Regions from separate parts of the Homo sapiens genome. Here all the other regions are linked to region 4. The links are contacts of gene promoters, found by promoter capture Hi-C in blood cells and fetal thymus (Javierre and others, 2016). All regions are on one chromosome and are shown on one strand. Each heading gives the region's core, a stretch centred on a gene start or on the middle of the fragment in contact. The rest is flanking DNA. Distances are from core to core; before and after follow the strand shown. Region 1 overlaps LMBRD1 (LMBR1 domain containing 1). Region 2 has its middle 15 kb from the start of LMBRD1. Region 3 overlaps COL19A1 (collagen type XIX alpha 1 chain). Region 4 holds the start of ADGRB3-DT (ADGRB3 divergent transcript).

The links. The method cuts DNA at HindIII sites, captures the fragments that hold promoters and counts their contacts. A CHiCAGO score of 5 or more calls a contact.
Region 1: a contact is called between a fragment that was not itself captured here and the fragment with the promoter of ADGRB3-DT in region 4, in 1 of 17 cell types (endothelial precursors). The highest score is 5.4, in endothelial precursors.
Region 2: a fragment that was not itself captured here is called in contact with the fragment with the promoter of ADGRB3-DT in region 4 in 1 of 17 cell types (M0 macrophages); the score reaches 5.2 in M0 macrophages.
Region 3: a contact is called between a fragment that was not itself captured here and the fragment with the promoter of ADGRB3-DT in region 4, in 1 of 17 cell types (M2 macrophages). The highest score is 7.3, in M2 macrophages.

What each region holds. Positions count from the first base shown.
Region 1 is chr6:69,728,289-69,730,988 of GRCh38, reverse strand. The region is part of intron 7 of LMBRD1 (LMBR1 domain containing 1); the gene reads left to right. Among named protein-coding and RNA genes, the nearest start is that of LMBRD1, 67 kb to the left of the region's middle. The HindIII fragment of the contact is 236 bases long and covers 1,191-1,426 here.
Region 2 is chr6:69,810,673-69,813,372 of GRCh38, reverse strand. No RefSeq gene overlaps it. Among named protein-coding and RNA genes, the nearest start is that of LMBRD1, 15 kb to the right of the region's middle. The HindIII fragment of the contact is 486 bases long and covers 1,044-1,529 here.
Region 3 is chr6:70,113,494-70,116,291 of GRCh38, reverse strand. The region is part of intron 16 of COL19A1 (collagen type XIX alpha 1 chain); the gene reads right to left. Among named protein-coding and RNA genes, the nearest start is that of COL9A1, 190 kb to the left of the region's middle. The HindIII fragment of the contact is 4,286 bases long and covers 1-2,798 here.
Region 4 is chr6:68,632,917-68,635,616 of GRCh38, reverse strand. It overlaps ADGRB3-DT (ADGRB3 divergent transcript), which reads left to right and starts at 1,293. Exons shown (of 2, transcript NR_125872.1): 1 at 1,293-1,432; 2 at 2,561-2,700. It overlaps ADGRB3 (adhesion G protein-coupled receptor B3), which reads right to left and starts at 335. Exons shown (of 32, transcript NM_001704.3): 1 at 1-335. RefSeq lists a silencer at 387-596. The HindIII fragment of the contact is 3,749 bases long and covers 133-2,700 here.

The DNA of each region.
Region 1 (2,700 bases), core at 59-2,558, 1.1 Mb before region 4:
TCTATTCTTATCTCTGGGATTTTCTTCGAAGCTGCCAACACACCTATCCTGTAAATTTAAGATGTTTTGCTGTTGTTTCTTGTCTTGCCATATAGAAGGGAATCCTTTTGCATATACCTAAGCAGAAAAATGCTTCTCTTTTGGATATCTTCCTTTCTTAAGCTTATGAAGCACTTGACTGTTGCTTTTTAAGAAAATACAGAATTATGCCCATTATTCTAATGAATATTTTCTTTACTACCGATGCATCTTCATTCTCTTTCTCCTGACTTACACATTAACTTTTTGCTTTAATGTCAAATCATATTATCTTTTAAGACATAAGTGGCAATTAAACTCAATAATTGTACCAAGAATGCATGTAATTCAACTGAAGTGACTGTAATGTAACTTGCTGTGACCAAATTTGTGAATGTGCATGTAGCGACAACTATGTCATGGCTTCTGCCTAGCCTTCAATTATATGATGCCTTCAATTTTTAGATGCATCCAAATTTCACTGATATTAAATGTAAGAAAATATATACGTCTTAGACTCAGTGAATACTTAAAAGGAAAGTCTTGAGTACCTGTGTTGTTTCATTAATCATAATAACATGTACATCTTTGAATAATAGATTTCACAAATATGTGGAAGACATTTATTAAGTCTACAGGTAGTATTTAGTGTTGACCCTTTACAATAATCTAAGGCCTGCAGAGTTGGAAACCAGCATTCCAGATAAAGGAGAGAGATATGTAAAGAAAACGTGCCCTTCTAAACTGAGCGGTAAAAGAAGTTATTAGGAATGTAGTTTGTATATATTATTTTAAAACATTTTAGTTTTCAAATACAGTTGGTGATTTATTCTTGGAAGTCAAAATAAATTTGGAGACAATTAGGGCCAACCTATTAATAGAAGCATTTTAAACTATACAATCTCTTTAGTTTTCTGATTTTTTTTTCTGGAAATTCACTAGAGGGCAGTAGTAAGTAATAAAAGTTTTGTGTTTCTGAAAAGGATAGCCTTTTTGTACATTAAAAAAAAAGTCTGAAGTGAAGTTCGTGAAGTTCAAAAGATTGTTGTTTAAAGACCTTAAAAGTTATAATGTTTTATATAAGGTCTATGTCAAGCTTATCATAATCTAAATATTGTAGTTAAATTTCCTGATAATTATTGAAAATGCAGTCCAAAAACAAGCTAAAAGCTTGGTAACCAAACGATGGCACCTTTCTTCTACGTTGTCTTCGGACAATTAAAAATTTAAAAATAGTGTTTTGTTCTGGTCTTATGTTACCGCAAGTTGTTACCAGAAACTTTTTTATTTTATAAAATATTTTAAATTAAGCTATTTAGAAATTCAGTTCAGCTCTTCTAATAAGTATATCAATTCCATTTAAGGAAATAACTTTGTGTGAATTAAGAGCTGTCTCTTCCTAAAAGCTTATTGGTCAATTATTATCTTCTTGGAGAAATTATTTTATTAATTTAATAATAAATGTTTGTTCTTGAAACAAAGGTAGGAGGAAAAAGAATTGGGACTTAGTCATTACATACCAGATAGTCTACTGTAGTTGTTATTAGTCTGGCCTAGAAATCTGTTCAGCCAAGTTTGGCAGATCTAGTGATAAAACAAATGTGCAGATGAATAATGTTAATATACCTATGCGTTATAATTGAGTTATAAGCAAGGGACATTTACAAGTCAGGGAAGGTTTCTCAGACGTATTGTAATTAAACCGAGACCTGAAGGGCATTAACAGTTGTTAATGAAATAAGATGAGAAGGTGGGCATTCTAGATGAGGGCACTACATGGAATAAAATGTGTATGTTGGACAAAGCCTAAAGTAGCATAAAATTGTAGTGTTTTAAGAACTATGAACAATTCAGAAGCATGAGATAAAGTTAACAAGTTGGTAGGGATCAGGTCATGAAGTGCTTTATATGTAGAATTACATTAATTAGAGTCTTTTCCCAATACCAACCAATAATTGTACCTTTCATAAAAAAAAAATAGCAAAACAACTTTTTAAAACAATTTTATATGTTCATATACATATAGAGGTTGGGAACAAGTAGAATTGCTCTGGTTAAAGTAGCAGCAGATTCCTGCATGGCTAGCTGCCTTATCTTCTGTAGTGGCCCTAGTGGCACCTTTCCAGATTCCTAGGAACTCATACCAGAATGCTTTGAAAAATACATTTATTAGTCCTGTAGAATCTTAAAGGATGTTAATTAGAGGAATGACATATATTGACTTGGGTATTAGAGTGAGATCACTTTAGAAACAGTGTAGAAGATGGATTTGTAGAAATTGAGACCAGCAGACCAGTTTAGGATAATTCAGAAGGCCTTGTGTTTGACAGTAGACTGTAAATAAGGGCCATGTTGTTAATACTGACTAGAGCAAAAGGTTCCTTGGGAAACAGTATCGAGTACTGCAGTTAGTGCATTCAGGGAACCTAATCCATCCAACACAGAATAACAAGCATTGAGGACAAATAGGCCTAGATTGGAGGTGGTTGAGGGGACAGGGAAACATACCTGCATATAAGCTGGGCTTAGCAAAATATTGCCATGGCATTTTGTTGTAAAAAGCAACATTCTTTTGGATTATGAAAATAATATGAATGATGTGGTTTGGCTGTCTGTCTCTACCCAAATCTCATGTTGAATTGTGATCCCGAGTGTCGGCGGTGTGGCCTGGTGGGAAGTGAT
Region 2 (2,700 bases), core at 37-2,536, 1.2 Mb before region 4:
ACACCTGGTTAGCCCTAAGAAGTAAATGAGCAACTTGATAAGCAAGAAGGCAAGAGTAGCTTAAAACTATAGCCAAGGGAATTAGAGTTCTGAGATGTTTGGTTTCCTTGTAACTGCTCAACGGATTCACCTTGCCCACTGCTTAGACAGAGACGATTTATGAAGAGAGGGGAACTGCAAGGCAGAACGACTAAGTCACACAGAGCCATCTGTGCAGGAGACTGGAGTTTTATTATTACTCAAATCAAATATCCTTGAGCATTTGAGGATCAGAGTTTTTAAAGATAATTTGGCAGGTAGGGGCTTGAGAAGTGGGGAGTGCTGATTGGTCAGGTTGGAGATGGAACCATAGGGGGTCGAAGTTGACTTTTTCTTGCTGTTTTCTGTTCATCTGGGTGAGATGGTAGAACTGGTTGAGCCAGATTACTGGTCTGGGTGGTGTCTGCTGATCCATCCAGTGCAGATTCTGCAAAATATCTCAAGCACTGATCTTAGGTTTGCAATAGTGATGTTATCCCCAGCAACTTGGAGCCAGAGGCTGCATGCCCCTAAACTGTAATTTCTAATCTTGTAGCTAATTTGTTAGTCCTGCAAAGGCAGACTGGTACCCAGGCAAGGAAGGGGTCTTTTCAGGAAAGGTCTATTATCAATTTTGTTTCAGAATCAAGCCATGAACTGAATTCCTTCTCAAAATTAGTTTGGCCTATCCTCAGGAATGAAGAAGGACAGCTTAAAGATTAGGAGCCAGATGGAATCAGTTAGGTGTGATTTCTGTCACTGTCATAATTTCCTCAGTTATAATTTTGCAAAGGCGGTTTCACCCTGTAGAAACTAAAGAGAACATCAGAATATATGTCCCTGAGTTGTTTCTTAGAAGCTGGTACCCCCACCAAATGGATTCCCTGGCATGTAGACCTCAAATAAGAGGTAATTGAGGACTGAACTCTTGCTTTAAATTTCTTCCTGAGGGGCATGGAGGAAGTCACGCCCACAGGCCAGACTTAATATTTCTTTCTTCTGATCCCAAATTTTTAAACAAAGCTTCTCTTCTTTAACCAATTGCAAGTCAGAAAATCTTTGAAATCCAGTTATGACCTGGAAGCACCCTGCCCCACCTGACTCTGCTTCCACCTTTGTAGGCCAAACCAATGTATCACCTCTATGTGTTGATTTATAGTTTTGCCTATAACTTCTGCTTTCCTGAAATTTACCTCTGCCTTTAAACACCCTTGCTTGCAAGCCATCTGGAAGTTTGGGTCTTACATTTCAGCTGCCCAATTATCCTTGCTTGGTACCCTACTAATAAAGGCCCTCCTTTCTCCTGCTGCAAAGCAACCTCGGTATGAATATTTGGCCTTACTGCACTGGGCAATGGGACCCCTGTTTGGTTTAGTAACATAAGAGTGGCCCACGCCTTTTCTACGTTTCTTAGAAATGAGTTCAAATCTGAGTCACTTCTGCAGAAATCACCATTGACCTTATCCTCTCTATTTAACTTTTTCATTATTCCACCCCTTTTTAGTCAAGCTTCCTGAAAGAATATTTTACATTCATGACCTCCGTTTTCCTAATTCTCCTTCATTCCTCTAAGCCAGTGCAACTTGTCTGCTTCCTATCCACTCCAGTGGAATTATTCTAGAAAATTCGTTAATGACCCCCCCACTCATGTTGCCATACTCGGTGGGCACTTGCTAGTCCTCTCACTATATTTGGTATTGACAGCTACTCATTAGTTTTAAAAAGTATCTTCTCTCTTTGTTTATATGATGTATTCTGATTATTAGTTCTAACCACTCTTTTCCTTTTATTCTCTCCTTAAAGTTTGCTGTTTTTTTAGGGTTGTCTATTTAGCTGACTATTATTCTCACTTCTACCAATTTTTCCTGGGAATTTTTTGCATTTTCATTGCTTCAGCTTTTACTTGAGTATAGATGACTCATACCTCTGTGGCAGGTCCCTTGGCTGAGTTTCCCGCCTATACATTCTATGAACTAGAGCTATCCGTGTTCCTCAGGCACCTCAAATCCAAGGTACCAAATAAAATCTACTACCTTGTTTCCTTCACTCTAAGGTGACATTGACTGTAAGATGCACCATCATTTTATAAATGATGAAGAACAAAATATACCAGTTATAGTGGTAAGATCCCATCAATTTAAAGGTGAGTCCTAACATCAGAGATGTTAAAATGTAAAGGAGAAAAGTGCATCTTAGAATCTATGAAATACAGTTTATTTCTGTCATTCCTCACCCTTAATCTTCTCTTCTTCGTATGTTCCCTGTCTTCATTAGTGGCATCATCATTCTCCACATCTCTCAATTTACAATTCTGAAAAGCATCTCTAATGTTAACTCGGCTTGGCTATAATAATCAACTATTCAAATGCTATGTGTTGCCGTGAAGGTATTTTGTAGACATGATAAATATCTACAATCAGTTGACTAAGTACAGTTGACCCCTGAATAAGTTAGGGGTTAGGGATGCTGAATCCCCATGCACTTGAAAATCTGCCTATAACTTTTGACTCTCCAAAAACTTAACTAGTAATAGCCTTCTATTGACTGGAATCCTTACCAATAACATAAATAGTTGATTAACATATATTTTGCATGTTGTATTTATTATATATTGCATTCTTCCAATAATGAAAACTAGAGAAAAGAAAATATTATTAAGAAAATTATGGTTGGGCATGGTGG
Region 3 (2,798 bases), core at 243-2,742, 1.5 Mb before region 4:
TTGGTTTTAGTTAGAAATGGTATCAAACAGAGCAAAGGGCTTGCTTCTTCCAAATTTATAAAAGACAAGACCAACAGATTTAGATTAACCTAAGAATGTGGCTAGTTAATTGAAAGCATAGTTATAGTGAGCTCCAGTTAAGTAGAAAAGAGCTCATGGATGGATTTTTGGACCAGAATTACAACATATAAGTTGTAAAGTAATTCTGGGGGAAAAAATCAATAATGTTCTTTAGATAGAAAATATTGGGGGACTCAATTTCTTTTTTTAAAAAAGACACACATCCTTTTCTCTGTCTTAATATTTACTCAAAATGAAATTTTTTTCAGTGTCTCTTGGGGTTTAATTACATAAATTAAGCAGTTATAATTGTAATGGATTTTTTTTCTGAGAATGCTTCTGTTGAGAATTTTTAGTGACTAAAGGGATACCAACACCTTCTCCCCACCAAAAAAAAAAAAAAAAACAAAACACCAAAAAACAAAACAAAAAAAACAACAACTGCTAGAAACTCTTGAACTATAAAATGTGATTCCTAAAGCCAAGAGCAGATTCAGTGAGTATTTATATTATTCTTACATTTCAATATAGAGACCTCAAGCTCTCATACTTGGGATTAAATGGGTCACCCTAGAGAACATGGGCCACATATAGGTGAAATTTAAAGGTTCCTGGGAGGAGGTCTTTTTCCTTCAAATATCTTGCCTGCTCTCCAGGTTATGCCCAAAATGTCCTAACAAAAGTCTTATTTTTTTTGATGTTAGGTTTTACTGCCAGATCAAATGCAAATGTTCCTGGGAGATATAATACTAAAGGTTCATGTTTTCACAGCTCTGGATAATTCTAAAAGTATTTTCACTTATATTTTCTTGGGTGGTAGGGTAATGTGACTGTAAAATGCATTATCTTATTTGATTCTTATAATAACCAACTGAAGTGGGTAGTATTATATTTTCCATTTAACAGATGGGAAAACCAAGAGATTTTTCCCCAAACCACATGAATGGTAGAACCAAGTCCAAAATCATTCCATTCTAATAGATTCATGTGAATTGTTCATTACATATTTCCCAAGAGCAAGGCGGGTAGGACAGGAAAGGAGAAGAATAAAGGGATGGCCCTTGGGGGCTAAGGACAGGAGAAGACAGTACCAAGTAGGAAAGGGAGGCTGAGGACTCTGCAGACTGCATCTCTGCCTCCACCACCGTTAGGCTGAGGGCTTTCACTTTCTGGAAAGAGGCTTTGAGAAATGACTTGTGAGCCAAGTCTTCAGGTTAACTTGGATTGTAAGTGGTGGGGACTCAAATGGAAATAAGCTCAGGGAAAATTCATGTTTCAGTGCTAATCTGATGGACCTGTTTCATTCATTGGTCAATACAAAAGAATACAGTTATGAAACTTAAATGCTCTCAATTTAAAAGAGATGTTTTCAAGTGTGTTTGTTCACATTGAAAATAGAATCTAATGAGTTTTTCCAGATGATGAATATGTATATGCATATATTTAGGCCAACATTCTTAGATGGATGAAGTTTCTCTATAAAGACTTTAACAGAGGAAAATAGGAAGGAGGGGAGCCAAGCAGATAGAAGAAAAATTTACATGCAGGTGATAATAAAAGAGAAAAAATATCAACCCTTTTGCTTTGGAAATGTCAGTTCCTAAATCCTGGGAAAGAAAGACAAAAATAATGAGAAGATGGCAAATAATGATTAAATGAGGATAATGATAACAAAAATATTAATAAATAACAATAGTTACCCTTTGAAAGTGACAACTGTGTGAGGTACATGCATTATTGCATTTAGCTCTTACAGCAGCCCAGTGAGGTGGTGTTTCCTTATTTTACACATAACAAAAGACTAAATATCTGACTCAAGGTCATATAAATAGTAGACAAGAGCTAGGTTTCAACTCAGGTCTGTCTGACCCCACTGCCTTGATCTTTTAACTCTTTCCCCTAAACCACCTCACAGTGAGAAGGATGATGGGAAAATAAAATACCAATCATCTTAAAGCTGGTTTTTAAACAATCGAGCAGGGCATCGTGTGGTGAAAGATCACAGGATTAATGAGGTATACAATCACTAAGGGCCAAGAAAAGAATGGTCTGAGACTTGGTGTAGACATGCCTTTTGAAAGGGCTGGGCACAGTGGCTAACACCCACAATGCTAGCACTTTGGGAGGCCAAGACGGGCAGATTGCTTGAGCTCAGGAGTTCGAGACCAGCTTGGGCAACATGGTGAAACTCTGTCTCTACTAAAATACAAAAAATTAGCAGGGCATGTTAGCGTGCACCTGTAGTCCCAGCTACTTGGGAAGCTGAGGCAGGAGAATTGCTTGAACCCAGAAGGCAGAGGTTGCAGTTAGCTGAGATCACGCCACTACACTCCAGCCTGAGTGACAGAGCAAGACTCCATCTCCAAAAAAAAAAAAAAAAAAAAAAAAAGAAAGACTTGGATGACAAGAAGAGTCAAGAGGAAAGTGACCAGAATGGGAGAGGGGTAAGGATAAGAGAGAGGAACAACACAGAGACACAAGGAAGTTCAAAATCATGGAGGGCTTCTACTAGAAAGAGAGCAGGAGAAAGAAAGATCAGAGTTAGGCTGAGATGGAAAAGGAAGGAAGTTAACAATCTCAACCAGCATCTTAAATAACTTTTGAGGTTTCAATAATGCCAAATGAAGGGCAAGGAGCCTTCGCGCTTATAAGATGGTGGAAGAAAAGAAAAAATAAATATAGTCAAAGGAGGTGGAATAAAATACTAGCTAATCAAGAGAGTATATTGCTTGGGGATG
Region 4 (2,700 bases), core at 44-2,543:
CCAACAAACCAAGAAGCAAAGAAAGCGCTGAGACGAGAAGTGACCGGCGGCGGCGGCGGCTGCTATGGCAGATTTGTTGGGGCGGTGGGTTTATTACAGGAGTATTCGTGGTCGGATCGGAAGGCTCAAGCTTATGCTTTTTCCTCTTTCCGCTTTCCTCCCTCCTCCTCCTCCCCCCTGCAGGTACTGATGGACGGACGGCGACTAAGGAGAGCGGGGAAAAAAATCCTTGGCTGGTGATGTCGGAAAGCTGTTTGAATGCCCAGCGAGGAGGGAGGCGCGAGAGGGAGCGAGATAGTAAAGCTCTGTCTCGGGTGTGCGCGCCGGCGCGCAGTGCTCGCTCTCCCTTGGGCGCGCGCGCGGGGGGTGCGCGTGTCCCGGGAGCGCGTCCGCGCGGCGGCCTCCCGCGTGCTCGTGTGCGCGCGCGTCCCGGGTGCCGCGCGCCCTTCTTATGCACAGCTGCGGTGCGCCCCGCCGCCCGCCAGAGGCTCGGCTCGCGCGGCGCGGCCGCTGCGACTTCCTGGAGTTCTGCCTGCCGGGGGCGCGGGCGGGTGTGTGAGAGAGAAGGCGAAGGGAGCCGCGGGGTGGGAGAGGAGGGAGTCCCGGCGGGAGGGCGGGGGAGAGGCTGGCGGGAGGGGGGCTCCACGGAGCTCCAGCCAGGGCCGCGGTTCGCCTGCACGTCACGGCTACTCAAACCCAAGCACGTCCCGAAAGCGGTATTTTCTGCGTCTGGGAGGTTTTTGCATCCTCAGTTCCCACCGCTGGGGCTGGCGGCGACCAACTGTAAGAGAAACTCACTGGGAGGCGAGGCAGGGGGGTGCGGAGGATGGGAAGGCGACTCTGAAGGGTGGGAAGTGAATGCTGGACTTGATCGTCTTTCTCTTTCTTTCAGCGCAGACCTGTCGCAGCCAGAGAGCTGTCATTTCAGTACCGGGATTCAGAATTGATCCAGTCCGCAGCGGAGGGGGCACATCCCAGCTACCGAGCTGCTGAGTGTCTCTGGCTGGAACAATAGTATTTTTTTCTCTGCGAGGCTGCAATTAACATCTTATTTGTTCTGGCTCCATACAGGCTTTGTCAGGATCGCGGTGCGGCGACCGACGTTGGGCTCTTGCATTGCTTTGTGCTTGGCAATGGAATCATGGTTTCGGGGTCTAAACTTTTGTTTCGTTTTGTAGTCTTAATGTATCTGATTCTTTTTCAAGTTTCCCTAGTAACAGGTTTGGGGACGGGGTGGGAAGAAGCGAGAAAAGGGGTGAAGAGAAAAAACCAGATTATATAGAAAGGAAAAAGGGAAAAGGGATGTTTCCCCACCTTTTAATCTAACTATCTATCTGTCTGTCTATCTATCATCATAGATAGTCATTTTGCCTCCTGGACAGTTGGCTGACGAAGTGTCTGATAAACCAGCTTCAGATACATGCTACAAAAGGTCATTCGCCTCCTGATTATGTTTCTACTTGTAAACGCAGTTGGTGGTTTGCAAAACAAGTGCTAAAATAGTGCAGTGATGTGGTGGGAGGAAACCATAATGGGTAATTCATATAAAGTGCTGGAATCTTCGTAAGGGTGAGTTTCTCGAGCGGCAGGTGAAGTTGAATAAAGCAATTTTCCATCATTTGTTCCCCTCACTCTTGCATTTTTTTCCTCCGCTTGTTTCTCTCCCCTGGGGCGATTATGGATAGCCAAGAACACCATTTTAAAAGAGATTGATAGTGAAAACAGGAAGTTTATGGTCTGTTATCCACTGGAGTTGTTTGAAATATTAAAATTGGTCCTTTACTTCTTAATGCATATTAATAGAGTGACCCTCTTCAAGGCTTTCCCGTCTTAAACGAATGCCTGGGATAAACACTGTAAGGGGAAACAGTTAATAATTCCCCAGCAGGCTTTAACTATTTTCCCAGTAACAAATCACCGGCAAGAGAGCAGCCTGGGTGGCATTTTGGTTTTGTGTCATTTTGGTTCTTTACAATATTTTTTATTCATTTAAGGAAATGTTAAAAGGAAATAATTAGGGTTTATGTCCAGAACAAATTTTGAAACACCGTTTAAGCAACACATTTTCTTTTAAAAACAAAGAACATTGAGCAACACAAAGGAGAAAAACATTTTATTTATTTCAACTTCCCTAGAGATCGTAATTATGATTTTCGCAAGGCAATTTGGTCAGTTCTGTTACTTTATCCAGAGGAAAAAAAAGCATGACAGATGTGGAATAAAAACGGAGGAAAAAATGCTTTGGATGGTTTATACATAAAAAGGAAAGAATGTAATGTGAGGTTCAGTTATACCTCTATTTTGCATCTAGTGATTTCTCATATTATCTTGTAACACTGATTTTGATGTTTCTTAGAAATTCTTAAAGTCATGACACAGTGGCATAAGAATAACAGCTGAAAGGGACAATTTAAAAGCCTAAATCCTAAATGGAAAGGTTCACTTACTCCCAGGATCATTTATATTCAAGTAGAAGTCAGGGCAGGGTCAGAAAAGAAAGCCACCCTTAATAAAGCGCTTCACCCTTCACATTGTTTCTCATAACCTTCATAAATTGCAGGCTACTGAGCTGGCCTGATGATGATCCTTCTGAGATATATTTATAGCAGATGATTTGTGGATGATAACTACGCCAAGCAAGACACTGTCTCCAGTAACCCCAGGCTCGTCTGACTTCCTCAGGGGATTATAATAAAGAAT